2 separate regions of the Homo sapiens genome follow, and region 1 is linked to region 2. Evidence: promoter capture Hi-C in human tissues and cell types (Jung and others, 2019). All regions are on one chromosome and are shown on one strand. Each heading gives the region's core, a stretch centred on a gene start or on the middle of the fragment in contact. The rest is flanking DNA. Distances are from core to core; before and after follow the strand shown.

Region 1 (4,291 bases), core at 1,589-4,088, 180 kb after region 2:
CTGGCTGTCTAATTTACAGCCTGAAAAAGTTGGGGCTACACTGGTCTTCTGTCTTGCAGAAGCACAGCTTCACTCTATCCTTCAAATCTTCTTGACAGAACTTTTCCCTTAAGTAACCATCATATGTCAGCATATAATTACAATTGTTTATGATCAGCATTCCATATTATTACAGAGTAAAGAAAACAATCTCAAACTGAACACATTAGCAAGCCTTTATAGAATTAACACTTTTTACTGTGTCACCTAGCACACTGAAAGCTTAGCTGACCTTCATTCATTCATTCATTTGTTGTTATGGGAGGTGGGACAGGGAACCTGACTTCTCAAGAAGGAAAGCAGTGTATTTACTTGCATTCTGGTGCAAGCTTTTTTTTTTCTTTTTTTGTGAGACAGGGTCTCACTGTGTCGTCCACTGCAGCCTCGACCTCCTGGGCTCAGGTGGTCCTCTCACCTCAGCCTCCCTAGTAGCTTGGACCACAGGTACACGCCACCATGCCTGGCTGATTTTTGTATTTTGTAGCAACAGGGTCTTGCCATGTTGCCCAGGCTGGTCTTCAAACTCCTGGGCTCAAGCGATTTGCCCACCTCAGCCTCCCAGCCTCCAAAGTGTTGGGATTACAGGCATGAGCTACTGCGCCCAGCCCTGGTGCAAGCTTCTCAATCTGAGTAAGTATCCCAGAATGTTTCCCTGTCATTTAAGCTGCTTTACCTGGACACATTCCTACACAAAGCCTAAACTCCAAACTACATTTTCTGACGCTAATCACACACTTTGATGTTACGGCAATGTTGAATTGTTATGAAAATTTCTAAACATCTCCTTTCAATTGCCGTACATATCTTATCATAGACTGTCAACAGTGTGCAGAGACCTGCAAGACCTGCACAGGTGTGCAAATTGCACTCTGAGCAACATTGCTCTCCGTCATTCTCTTATTCCAACTGATTTCAGTAATCACTCCCTCCCCTCGAGTCTTCAAGCCTAGGGATGATAAGAGCTTGGTTGCTACCAGCTCTCACTACACTATTCCCCCAACAGCTTCGCCTTTATAAATTGTTATTTTGTTCATAAATCTCCTCCTTGAATTATCCTAATCTGCCTTCTGAATTTCTCTTGGGAAATGTTTTCTGATATAGCCTCCTAACATAGTACCCTGTCCGGCACAGACAAGACGAACAATCCGTGTTTACTGAATAAATGACCTGACATTATTTTGGAGAAATAAGATAACATTTTTCAGGAGGTGAAAATAAGGAGAGGACCCAAGGCATGATATGAACCCGTGCTTCTTCCTTACATGGTCATTATCCCTTCCAGATTTGGAGGCCTAGGCCAGAGCAACCAATAGCTCACATAACACCTTTGTGCAAATTAGAAAAAGGCCTGGCCTGTGGAAGGACACAGTCCCCAAAACACATGGCTTGAAAAAATACAGTGTGGGCTGGCTCTCAGCTCCCCAGACCAGGTACTCTCTGCTTGAATAATGCACACAATCTTACGCAGCTAGTCTGCCCTAGGCTGAGCAAACTGGCAAGTCATTCCACCTTAGAAAAGTGACCAATTAAGTATAATTCTCTGAAGAAGCTCATTACAGCTCAGATTTTGTGGGAATGTGATATTTTTGTCTGCAGGGTGATCTTTTTGACACTTTTCCTCCTTACCTTCCTGAATGTGAGAAGAGAGTCCTTGCTGGCATCATTCGAATAGGTAGTATTGTTATCCAATGGGGCCACAGGATTTCTGGGGGCAAATGCTTTTTGCAGTTCTTCTAAATATAATTGTGCTGTCTTGAAGAAGACCTTTAAGACCCCGAACTGCATGGTCTGTGACTAAGAGTAGCCCAGGGGAGCGTGCTGGGGGTGGCAGGTATTAGGACCTAGCTCTTTCTGGCTGGAGCTGGCACCACTTGCATAGGAGGTACACTGATCCCTGGGGTGAGTTGGGGAGTGGGGATGGGAGAGTTCAAGGGAGCAGGGTGAGGAAACTAAACGACTTGTCAGTGCCTTGTGATTCAGACCTTCCTGTTGTAGAGAAGTGATTTTGTTTGACATGGATTCCCAGAATGCCTGACACACCCACATGCAAGCGAGCCCCAACCCATCCCAGGGCCCATGGTGAGTGAGTGAACTGAGGATTCATGACAGCTTCTGCCCTCAGCACCATTCCCTGCTCCTATCTGAACAGGCTTTTCCCCAATAGAAGCATCACAAGAGCATATGAGGATGGGAAACATTCCAGAGACTTGCATTAAATTGACCCTATAATTCTCAAGCCTGAGAGGGGAAGCTATCTGTCTTTTCTGGAAGCTTGACACACCTTAACTTCTCTCATTTCTTGTTTTTATTTATTTGTTTATTTATATTTTAGACGGAGTTTCACTCTTGTCACCTAGGTTGGTGTGCAATGGTGCAATCTTGGTTCACTGCAACCTCCGTCTCCCTGGTTCAAGCAATTCCCCTGCTTCAGCCTCCCAGGTAACTGGGATTACAGGCATACGCCACCATGCCCAGCTAATTTTGTATTTTTAGTAGAGATGGGGTTTCACCATGTTGGTCAGGCTGGTCTTAAACTCCTGACCTCAAGTGATCCACCTACCTCAGCCTCCCAAAGTGCTGGGATTATAGGCGTGAACCACCGCGCCTGGCCAACTTCTTTCATTTCTTAATCTCCCAAACACATCGGTCAACTGTAAGTTTGATAGTAATGACAGGGATATCTACTTCGTAATCAAACCAAAAGTGGTGAGATGGGGAGGATGTGGGAAAGGCGAATCAGAGAGCCTGGGGAAAGGTATTGCTCTCCCTTCCAGAACTGGAGTCAACATACAAACACCTTTTCATGCGGTCACTGGGTCATCACTAAAAGTAACACTCATTGCATTTTGGAAACTGAAGAAATCTCAGAGACCATTATTCCTTTGTTTTAAAGACTAGGACCCTGAAGCGTAATGAAATGTATTACGGCTGAAGATTACCCAGGAAATGAAACCAGGGTTAGAACCCAGGTCTGTGGCTGCTACTCCAATGTGACTTCTACCATGCTATGCTGCCTCTCAAAGTAATTATCTTTTCTCACTCATTCGTTCATTCACCAAATATTTGTTGGGCACTGTTACGTGCCTGGCACTGTGAGGTATGCTAGCTAGATAGTAGAAGTGAACAAGACCAACATTGTCCTCACGGGGCTTAAATGTAATGAGAAGACACATTAAACAAATTATGCAAATAAACAATTACAAAGATGATGAATGCCAAGAAGAATTAGACGGCACTATTAGAGCTTATAAAAACATGCCTTACCTAGCCCAAGTGGCAATGATGGTGGTGAGATCCAGGAAGGCTTCTCTGAGGAAATGACATTTAAGCTGAGACTTGAAGGATGAGTAGAAGATAGTGAGGTGAAGGGTCTGGGAGATGGGAAGTGAAATTGAGGTAGAGGGAAGGAGATGTATTATGGCAAAAACTGTCATTACTTTTGCACCAGCCTAATACAAAGGCAGGAAAGAGATAAAGCTTTCAAATAACTGAAAATAAACCTGTGGCCTAGTGTATAAATGGTCTGGGGGATACAATGGGTTGGGAAGCAGAGTCAGACCATTCAGAGCCTGGCAAGCTGTGGTCAGGATTCTGGACTTTATCCTGAGAGTGGAGGGAAACCACTGGAGGGTTTTTAAATATGGAAGTGTTATGACCAGATTTTTCTTTTTCTTTTTTTTTTTTGAGATTGAGTTTTGCTCTTGTTGCCCAGGCTGCAGTGCAATGGCGCGATTTCAGCTTACTGCAAACTCCTCCTCCCAGGTACAAGCAATTCTCCTGCCTCAGCCTCCCAAGTAGCTGGGATTACATCTATATGGCATCACACCTGGCTAATTTCGTATTTTTAATAGGGATGGGATTTCGCCATGTTGACCAGGCTGGTCTTGAACTCCTGACCTCAGGTGATCCACCTGCCTCGGCCTCCCAAAGCACTAGGATTACAGGCATGAGCCACCGCACCTGGCTGACCAGATTTTAAAAAGATCACTGAGAAGATTTCACTAGTGGGAGCAAAAGTGAATGCAGGCAGTGACTTAGGGGGCTCCTCCAACATCTCAGGTAAGAGAGGATGGTGGCTTGGACCAGAGCAGGGCTAGTGGAGATGGGGAGAAATGAAGACATCCACAAGCATTTAGAAGGAACTTGGTACTCAGTGAATGTGAGAAATGAGCAAGAGAGGAGGGACCAAGAGTAACCATCAGTGTTGGCATAAGACGGGGGAAATGGGGGTGCATTCCTGGAGCTAGGGAAT
Region 2 (4,296 bases), core at 1,054-3,553:
TTTGAGATTGGAGTCTTGCTCTATCACCAGGCTAGAGTGCAGTGGCACAATCTCGGCTCACTGCAACCTCTGCCTCCTGGGTTCAAGCAATTCTTCTACCTCAGCCTCCTGAGTAGCTGGGATTACAGGCATGCGCCATCACGCCCAGCTAATTTTTTGTATTTTTAGTAGAGATGGGGTTTCGCCATGTTGGCCAAGCTGGTCTCGAACTCCTGAGCTCAAGTAATCCACCTGCCTTGGCCTCCCAAAGTGCTGGGATTACAGGTGTGAGCCACTGCACCCAGCCCTGATGCTATTGTTAAACTCAGTTTGGAGAAAGGCTATGTGGACAGAAGATAGATCACAGGGAAGGGGGGGGTCCTAAAAGCACGTGGGGAAAACGTATATTCTGTCTTAGAGATGCTAGGACGAACTGTCTTTAGAATGAAGGCTGCCCCATGACAGGAAGCAAGGTTTTAAGGTTACTTGACTGAGAGACTCCTCATACCCTTTCCCCTCTTGGGGGTTCCAGACTCACTGAGCTAACTTTCTGGTAACTGGGCTTCCCAAGGGGTAGCCCAAACTGCCTTGATCTATTGATGCAGAAATTCAGTTCTGCTTGACAGTTTTATTTCTCTGTGCAAATTGATACCTAGCCTTCTGGGGTTTGTACATAGGCCTTTATTCTGGTCAAATGCCAGACCTGCGAAGGGAGTCGGATCCACTCACTGAACCAGTGAAACTGGGTTTTGGAGCCAGAGGTCTGGGAACCATGTCCCTCAAAACAGCCAAAGGTATCCATCTTTAGCAGAACTACCTTGTACCAGTTAATCTGCAATAAGTGACTAGGGAGAGAATGAAGGGAAGATCTAGCTAGACAGGGTAGACAAGACTCCAGGGTATAGCCAGGAAAGGGAGTCCTCCTGAAGCCTTTGCCTCATCTTAGGCACTTCCTCCTTCAGGAAGCTTTCCTTGATCCTTGCTCTACCCAGGCTGGGGTAGGTACCCTCATGTGCACTTTTCATGGCACTAACTAGTCACACTGGGCAGGGAGCATTTGTCTACTTGTCACAACATATCTGAGCTTTTGGAAAATAAGGATAATGTCTTATTTGTCTTTGTAGCTCAGGGGCCTGGTGCAGAGTAGGTACTCAGTTAATGTTTCTTGAGTGCATGACTTGGCTGAATGAATGACTGAGACAGAATGGATTGATTAAAGACAAGAGAGGGTGGACTGTAAGCCCCCCAGGATAGAAACCCCGACTGCCTTGTGGTGTACTACTCCCCAGTGCCCAGCACAGTGCCTAGCAGAATCAATGCCCAAAGTGTTCCCGATATGCTGACCGAGGGTCAGATCCCACTTGCCTCTTCTCGAAGATTCTCTACCTGACCACTTCTCTCCTTGCTGCCGCTGGCTAGCACAGAACATCCAGTCCCCGCTGCTGTACTAAGCAACACGGAACCGGGTGGCACCTAGACTTGTTCCCTGTCGCTGCAGATGTAGAGTAGTGTCTTTCCCTCCTTCCAAGCTAGTCGCCCAGGGCAGGGTCGCCCTGTCTGGCTAGGGTGCTGCACCCGCAGCTCTCGGTATCTTAGGTCAGACGCCTGGAACGCGCAGGCCGTTTCTGTTCCTCCGGAAAACAATCTCTGAGCTGCGCCACGACCCGTCCCTGCGGAGCAGGAGTGGGGAATGGGAAGGTGGGAAGGCGAGTCCGCGACTCTGCTCCCCAACCCCAGCTGGCGCGGCGGCTTTCCACGCACCCCCCTCCCCCCACCCCGATCTCCCGATCCTGGCTCTGGCGCGGTGCTCCTTGCAGCCCCACGCTTTGCAAACTTTCGGAGTTTTACTCCATTTGCGTCACGGAAAAGGCAGGAGGATGACGGAGTCCAGGAAGCGAGGCAGCGGCAGCTGGCAAGCTCCCCCGCCGGGCGCTCCAACCACGGGGGCGTGAGGTGTCTCCCGGCGAGGGCGGACAGGCGGAGGGAGAGGAGGGGAGGTGGCGGTCCCAGGGACCAGCCCCGGAGGCTCTCGGGCCCCCTCGTTCCCGGGTCGTTTCCTCCCTCTCGCCTCCCGGACTGAGCGCCAGCGAGCGAGGGCGCTGGCCAGCTGGGAAGCCGCGCGGAGGAGTAGGCGGGGGCTCGGCTGCAGCGCCCCGGGCCCGCGGGAGGGCGGAGCTGGCCGTCCCTGCCCCGCCGGGACGCACGGAAGTGCAGCGGAGTTTGCCCGATTCTCCAGCCTGCTTCCCCCTCCCTCCTCCCTCTCCCCACCCCTCACCTCCCCTTTGGCGATCCCCTCCTTCCTCAGGACGCCACCTCCCGGAATCGCCTTTTTGTTTTGGAGCTGCCTTCTCGCTGGCGGAGCGGAGGGTCTGCGAGCGCCGGGGAAGGCAGGCTGGGGGCGCAGCCCGCCCCCCACTGGCCGGGCCCCGCAGGGCGGAGAGGAGGACGGACGGACAGACGGCTGGCCGCGCCATCTGCTCGCCGGAGCTCACTCTCCAAACTCCAAACTGTTGAGTGTGTGCGTGCACGCGAGGGTGGTGATCGGGGGTCGTAAGTCCCGGGTGAGGAACCGGTTTCTGCTGGGGTTACCTTTGGACGGGGTTCCTGGGATTCAGAGCAGGGTCAGCGTCAGGCTCAGAAACTGCTGAGGAATTAGGCAAACAAAAGAGACCACTCAGCGAGTGGCTAGAAGTCGCCCGACAGCCTCGTCGCGCCCCCTCCTTCCTCCGGGGTTGGGGCTGGCCACTTCTGGGGCGGGGAGAGGGCGCCCGAGCCGGCGGGGGCTCCGGCTGCGCAGCCGGGGTCGAAGAGTTGGCGGCCTGTTGTGTAAGCCTCAGTCCTTGTTTTCCCGGCCTGGCTCGTTGTGAAGCCGGACACATCCACCCTTGGACTCGATTCAGGCGGCTGCTGCTTTTCTCCTTGCCCCTCTTGGATTTTCCGGATTTTTGAAAACCCAGTGGCCCAGGAGCAAGAGGAGGAAGGAGGAAGGGGCAGATCTGCAGAGGAATGTGAGAGCCTCCCAAAGCGAGAGCCGCCAAAAGAATCTGGGAGCCAGAGGGACAGCCGAGCCCTGCCCGGGTTTCTGGAATGGTGGTTTCAGAGTGAGTCTCTTCTATTTTAGAACGTTGTTCCAGTGGAAAGTGTCGAATTTTTCCCCTCGCAGGGCAGATTTCTCCAGGTCACTTGACTTTTCTTCTGGGAGTAGGAGTTAGGAGAGATTCCCCTCTAACCCCCCAGAGGCTGCTAAGGGAGGAGGAGACTGTGGACATGAGCCCTCCCTGCTCACAAGCATATGCCCGGAGACCTGATAGGGCAGTTTCTGGGCCATGGACATTGCTTTGAAGAGGGGGAGACTGGACAGCATCTGTGGGTGCTGAGACCCCACCTTAGGACCTGAGAGATTGAACTGTGTAAGCGCCATTCAGCTGCGAGTGCATTCTTGGACTGCCTTGTGAGCATCCCCGGTCTGGGCAGGACCCTCTCCTTCCCATCTTTCTATACCACCCAGCCCAGCCATGGCACTGAAAGGCCGAGCCCTCTATGACTTTCACAGTGAGAACAAGGAGGAAATCAGCATCCAGCAGGATGAGGACCTGGTCATCTTTAGCGAGACCTCACTGGATGGCTGGCTGCAGGGCCAGAACAGCCGTGGGGAGACAGGGCTCTTTCCTGCCTCTTATGTGGAGATCGTCCGTTCTGGCATCAGCACCAACCATGCTGACTACTCCAGCAGCCCTGCAGGCTCTCCCGGAGCCCAGGTGAGCTTGTACAACAGCCCCAGTGTGGCCAGCCCAGCTAGGAGTGGTGGGGGCAGTGGCTTCCTCTCAAACCAGGGTAGCTTTGAGGAGGATGATGATGATGACTGGGATGACTGGGACGACGGATGCACAGTGGTGGAGGAGCCACGGGCTGGTGGGCTGGGCACCAACGGGCACCCTCCCCTCAACCTCTCCTACCCTGGTGCCTACCCCAGCCAGCACATGGCCTTCCGGCCCAAGCCACCACTGGAGCGGCAGGACAGCCTGGCATCTGCCAAGCGAGGCAGTGTGGTGGGCCGTAACCTCAACCGTTTCTCATGCTTTGTGCGTTCTGGAGTGGAGGCCTTCATCCTGGGTGATGTGCCCATGATGGCCAAGATCGCTGAGACATACTCCATTGAAATGGGCCCTCGTGGCCCCCAGTGGAAGGCCAATCCCCACCCATTTGCCTGCTCTGTGGAGGACCCCACAAAACAGACCAAATTCAAGGGCATCAAAAGCTACATCTCCTACAAGCTCACACCCACCCATGCTGCCTCACCCGTCTACCGGCGCTACA

The links. The method cuts DNA at HindIII sites, captures the fragments that hold promoters and counts their contacts. A contact is called where the count stands out against the background at its distance.
Region 1: a contact is called between a fragment that was not itself captured here and the fragment with the promoter of SNX33 in region 2, in 2 of the 25 tissues and cell types used here (IMR-90 fibroblasts and lymphoblastoid cells).

What each region holds. Positions count from the first base shown.
Region 1 is chr15:75,825,847-75,830,137 of GRCh38, forward strand. No RefSeq gene overlaps it. Among named protein-coding and RNA genes, the nearest start is that of UBE2Q2, 15 kb to the right of the region's middle. The HindIII fragment of the contact is 5,487 bases long and covers 96-4,291 here.
Region 2 is chr15:75,645,609-75,649,904 of GRCh38, forward strand. It overlaps SNX33 (sorting nexin 33), which reads left to right and starts at 2,304. Exons shown (of 2, transcript NM_153271.2): 1 at 2,304-4,296. The coding sequence starts at 3,495. RefSeq lists a silencer at 1,923-2,462 and an enhancer at 2,088-2,779. The HindIII fragment of the contact is 33,754 bases long and covers 1-4,296 here.